2 separate regions of the Homo sapiens genome follow, and region 2 is linked to region 1. The links are contacts of gene promoters, found by promoter capture Hi-C in blood cells and fetal thymus (Javierre and others, 2016). All regions are on one chromosome and are shown on one strand. Each heading gives the region's core, a stretch centred on a gene start or on the middle of the fragment in contact. The rest is flanking DNA. Distances are from core to core; before and after follow the strand shown. Region 1 holds the start of TMEM38B (transmembrane protein 38B). Region 2 overlaps CT70 (cancer/testis associated transcript 70).

Region 1 (2,665 bases), core at 73-2,572:
TACCATCCTCATCCAGGTCAAAATTTGTACCAACGATTTAAACTGAGCTACAAACTTCAACATAAATGAAAAATATTTCTGAGGTCTAAGGATTTTTTAAAACCAGTAAGTAGTCCATAAGAAAGATACAGCATCATCCTCCAGACCTCACTCATCAACTATCCGTAGGGCAAGGCAGATGAAAGACAGCAAGAACACAAAGAAAGTAGGCAAAGAAATGTCTGACCTCAAAGAAAGAAGAGGTCCATACAACTAAAAGCACAGTAGAATAACTACAAAAGTAAAGCAGTATTAGAGCAAACGCACCCTGGTGTAAAATCCAATAAAATACAACTACTGTCCCTTGATCGCATTGCTAAAAGAACTCAAAATGCTGTTTCAAGACTATATCCCCATTCTGCAGATAGTGAAACTACGCCAGGTAACTCTTGCTTGTACAGTGTCCGTCGTGACTGTGAAAAGGGGAACGCACTCGCTTCTCACATGCTAGGCAGGGTGTTAGGACACTGCGTGAAGGGGAATCCTGGTCTGGCTACAGGAGGCTTTTTGTTTCAGTGCTTGTACAACTTTCATAACTGGAGAGTAGTCCGCAACCATCTATTACTCCAAGAGACTGAGTCAGAAACCTGCTGTCTCCTCACATGACTTTCAAACACTGCGAGCGAGTGGCGACACTGCGAGCGAGTGGCGACACTGCGAGCGAGTGGCGGTACCGCGAGGAGGCCGCCCAAGCCCTGGGCTGGCGCGGATATCTGTGGTTCCGAAACGCTGCGGCAGCTTCTGTCAGTCCTGGGACTTCTGCGGGCGGTTGGCAAGGTCGGCCCTGCTCGCCCAGGCTACGGCCTCGCGGACCCCAGGTCACGCCTCCTTTGAGGAGTACTAGAGCCTCCGTCCTCCCCCACGCTGTTTCCCCATCTGCACTCAGTAAGTCAGACCAACCGGCCCTTGGCGCCCCTCCAACTCTACCATCGAACTGTCTGGGCTAGCGGCCACTCAGCCGCCCACCCGACCCACCCGACCCACCCGACTTAGACGGTCCTCGCCGTCAGGAGCACTCTGAGGGGTCCGGCCCGCGGCGCCCCGCACTCACCCGGCTGACGTTTCACCGCCATCACTGACACTAGATAGTGCGCGATGTCAAAAAAGGGAAACATGGACGTGCGGGAGAAGGCCAGAGCCAACTCGTCCCATGGAGAATCCATAACGACCACCGACCGCGGCAACCGAAGCAGCCGCGGCTACTGGTTCCCCGCGCTCGCGCGGTGAGGAGTAGGAGAGGGCACAGCCGCGGCCGCCCGCTCCTCCGCGCCGGCTCCAGCTCCGCGCGTGCGCCCTGGCGCCGAGGGGGCGGGGCCGCGCTTCGCGGGAGCCGCAGGCTCACCGGCGCTAGGCGGGTGGGCGGGGCGAGCGGGTTCCCCGCGGCTCCAGCCGGCTCTTGCCTCGGTTCTCCTAGTAAGGGTCCAGCGTCTTCTTGGTCCTGGGCGCAGTGCAGGACCTGGAGAGCGTGCAGATGAACAAAACACGGTCCTCAAGGGGAGACGCTCAGAGTTGGATTTATTTCTGTAAATTGATGTCATTCACCTAACATTTATCGAGCAACCACAGTGCAAGTCACACTGTGACTTACTGGAGATATAAAAATAAAACAATAATATCCTGACCTCAAGAACTATGCGTTCCCTGAAAGAGATTTTTTATAAAAAGAGAAAAAACGCACATAATGGTACAAAAGCAGGTACTGAGAAGTATAGCTGCCGTGCGAGAGCAGTTCGAAACGAAGATTACAATTCTGGGAAGTGAGTAAAGTGACATGTGAGCTGGACTTTAAAAGTTAAGTGAGAAACACAAGCTAGGTGGGAGATGGAGGGAGGTGTTTTGGGTTGACTACAAAGTGAGAAATGAGGTTGGGAAAAGTCCTCGAATGGCAGACAAAGCCAGGCAGTTTGGCTCCAGAGGTTAAATTCTTGATCAATCACTATGTTAAGCTCAGAGCCAGAATCTCTTCTCCTAATCTCTACGCTAACTGGGTTGTTTGGTGGAAGGTGAGGGAGTAGAGGTGCAACGAAGCAACAAGATTAAGAATAGATTGATGAGAAGCGACTGACAACGGAAAATCAGAGGGTATTCACTGGTCCAAGCAAAAGGTAGTGGAGGCTGTGGCAGCAGAAATTGAGACCAATTGTGGGAAACATGGGTAGAAGCAGAATATCGTCAGTGAGTGTCAGTCTGTACAGGCGGGAAAGGAAGCATTTGTCAAATAAAATGAGGAACGGGTGAGTAGGAGGATTGTGGTTGCATTCTGATAAATAGGAAACAAGAAGGAATAGGTTTGGGTAAGAAAAAAAACTAGCTTGGCACACTTATTTGATGTGTGAACAGATTATGCTGGCACCAGGAAATTGGAGAAACGTGATTAGCTGCTAGGTAGGTGACAGCTTCACGGGTGTATGCACTGCAAAAGGAGAATTTTTTTTATCTGAATATGTATTCATTAATTTTAATTCATTTAACAAAATGTTTTTTGCGTGCCTACTATGTAACCAGCATTTTGCTGGATGTCAGAAATACTGCCCTAAACACTAAGTGTTTAAAACGTAGGAAAATTGTAGTAAATCTCTACACTTCATTACTTATCAAGAAAGAATAGACTTGTTCAAATACTTTT
Region 2 (2,665 bases), core at 122-2,621, 710 kb after region 1:
CAAACCTGCTGCGGCTTGGACTTTTACCAAGTCCACTCTTCCATCCATAACCAGGATTTAATAATAGCTGTAATTATTAAATATTTATTCTGAGCATTGGGCTAGCATCTTATGTACTTTATCTCTTTCAATCTTCATAATAATATCTCGTGAAGTGGCAGCCTTGAAGATGAGGAAGTGGAGGCGATGGGCTGTTAGCCACTTTGCCCAAACTCCCCATTCTGATAAGCAGCAGGGCTGGCATGTGAACTCAACTTGTCTAACTCCAAAGTTCAGGCTCCGAAGTATTATTTAGAGTTCCTTCCCTCATTTCTGACATCGTATCTTCATTCAAATTTCCCCTCCATTTTTGGTTTCTGTACTTCTCATTCTAATAAATTACTTTTATAAATATTGCTTTATTGAACAAAGCCAATAGTTGTAATTATAAGAAAAACAACAATATCAGTTATCATTGGAGGGTTTACTGAATGTCTGTCCCTGAGCTGGACCCTCACAAACACAGTTAAATTCAGGTTTGAGGAATCCTGTACTCACATCTATTCTTCATTATCATCAATGTGTCAAGAAATAAGGGAAGAAAAATGAGAGAAAAACAAAACAACACTGGACTGAGAATCAAAAGTCCTGGAATTCTTTACTTGCAAAATTAACAGCCACTTTCTGTTTACTTTACAAAGTAATTGTGAGGCTTAAATTAGATAATGCATTTAATCATGCTTTGTAAACTAGTCAGATCTCTACAAGATGTTATAGTGAGCTATGTCAGTATTTAGTGTGTGATCTTGGCAAGCCATCATCTCTGAAGCTCGGTTTCATCACGTGAAATGGGAATCATAGATCCTACCACTCAAGGTTGTTGTGAGGATTAAGGACTGCCTGGTCCACAGGGCAGGGTAATTGGATCTGTATTTCACTGATACTCTTTTAAAGTTTGTTTTCAAGACTGCTTTCTTTCCAAGTGCTTTTCTTTCGCTTGTTCCTAATTATTTTCTGGCAATTTCTTCCACTCTCATCCCTGAGTTGAAGCACTCAGCTTTCTGGCCACCTCTGCATTTGTTACAGGATGGAAAGTCTTGACTGTGAGTTGTCTAGGTTCTTGGCACATTGAACAAAGAATTGAACAAAATGCACAAAGCAACAAAAGAATGAAGCAATGAGAGAAGACAGAAACAATGAAAGTGCAGATTTATTGAAGTGAAAGTTCATACTCCACAGAGTGGGAGCAGGCTCCAGCAAGCGGCTCTAGAGCCCCAACTACAATGTTCTTCTACTTGAGATGGAGTCTCACTCTGTCATCCAGGATGGAGTGCAGTGGTGTGATCTCAGCTCACTGCAACATCCGCCTCCCAGTTTAAGTGATTCTCCTGCCTCAGCCTCTCGAGTAGCTGGGATCACAGGTGTGCACCACCACACCAGGCTAATTTCTGTTTTTTTATTGTTGTTGTTGTTGGTAGAGATGGGGTTTCACCATGTTGGCCAGGCTGGTCTCCAACTCCTGGCCTCAAGTGATCCGCCCACCTCAGCCTCCCAAGGAGCTGGGATTACAGGCATGAGCCACCAAGCACGGCAGGGTTGCCATGTTCTTTAGAGTTTTTATTAAACTAAAAGAATTTGGTAACACCCCTAGGTACCCTTTAGAGGCCTCCAACTGGTTACACCCTATGAAGACCTGGCCTGTGGCCAATCAGAGGCTGAAGTGGAGACTTGGCCTGTGGTCAATCCGAGGCTAAAGTGGAAACTTCTATCTTGTTATCGCAAGAGTGAGGATGTGGCCTGTATGCTGCCTAATCTTGCCTAGAACTGGCTGCACCTGCTGTTCTTTTGCCATTTGTAACATAACAAATATCTTAACCCTTGGTTACCCTAACTCCCTATTTTCCTGTCTCACATTCACTTCCTTAAGGAGCCAACTGGCACACAGAAGCCCAACCATCACTTTACCTACAAGACTCCCACGTCTCTAGTCTGTGCTACCAATCTCCCCAGTTTCTAACTTTTCTCTTTTCTGAGATCTTCTAGCCCCATACTTGGGATCTTGTTAAAATCCAGCTTCTGATTTAGCAGGGCTGGGGTTGAGCCTGATTTTGCAGTTCTAGCCAGCTTCCAGGTGATGTCCATGCTGCTGGCCAATGAATTACACTTGAGAAGCGAGCATCTAGCTTAACTGCTACACCAGAAATCACCTGACCAGCATCTCTCAGATCCTGTAATCTTCACAGCCTTTTACTGGATCTTTTCAAAGAGACTGTCATAGGCTCTTAACCGTCTGGACTTGTGTGACAGAAGCCACTAACCTTCTCCTGATTCTGTCTCTTTCTCAATGGTGATAAAGCCTCCTCTACCCCCATTTTTAGGTAGGCACTTGGCCATCCGGAATAAAACACAAAGTGTCCTCGTCTTCCGTCCAGCTAGGAATGGCCATGTGACTACACTCTAGATATAAGCAGAAAGAGTTTGTGATACTTTTGGAAAGTTTCCTTAAAGGGAGGGAATAGGCCATTTTTCTCTCCTTTTCTTCCTTCCTGTTGGTTGCAATGGGGTCATGGTGACTGAAGCTCAACAGTCATCTAAGGCCAAGAGGCGGGTGAGGCAAGCAGAGCAGTAGTGTGGAGCACACCTGGCTTCTCCAGACTTCTTTCACACGAGAGGGAAATACGAGGCT

The links. Contacts are between HindIII fragments. The CHiCAGO score rates a contact against its expected background, and 5 or more counts as called.
Region 2: a contact is called between a fragment that was not itself captured here and the fragment with the promoter of TMEM38B in region 1, in 1 of 17 cell types (naive CD8 T cells). The highest score is 6.6, in naive CD8 T cells.

Annotation. Positions count from the first base shown.
Region 1 is chr9:105,693,198-105,695,862 of GRCh38, reverse strand. TMEM38B (transmembrane protein 38B) reads right to left here and starts at 1,322. Exons shown (of 6, transcript NM_018112.3): 1 at 1,091-1,322. The coding sequence starts at 1,202. RefSeq lists a silencer at 1,219-1,488. The HindIII fragment of the contact is 6,405 bases long and covers 1-2,665 here.
Region 2 is chr9:104,981,849-104,984,513 of GRCh38, reverse strand. The region is part of intron 3 of CT70 (cancer/testis associated transcript 70); the gene reads left to right. Among named protein-coding and RNA genes, the nearest start is that of CT70, 8.6 kb to the left of the region's middle. The HindIII fragment of the contact is 3,395 bases long and covers 1-2,665 here.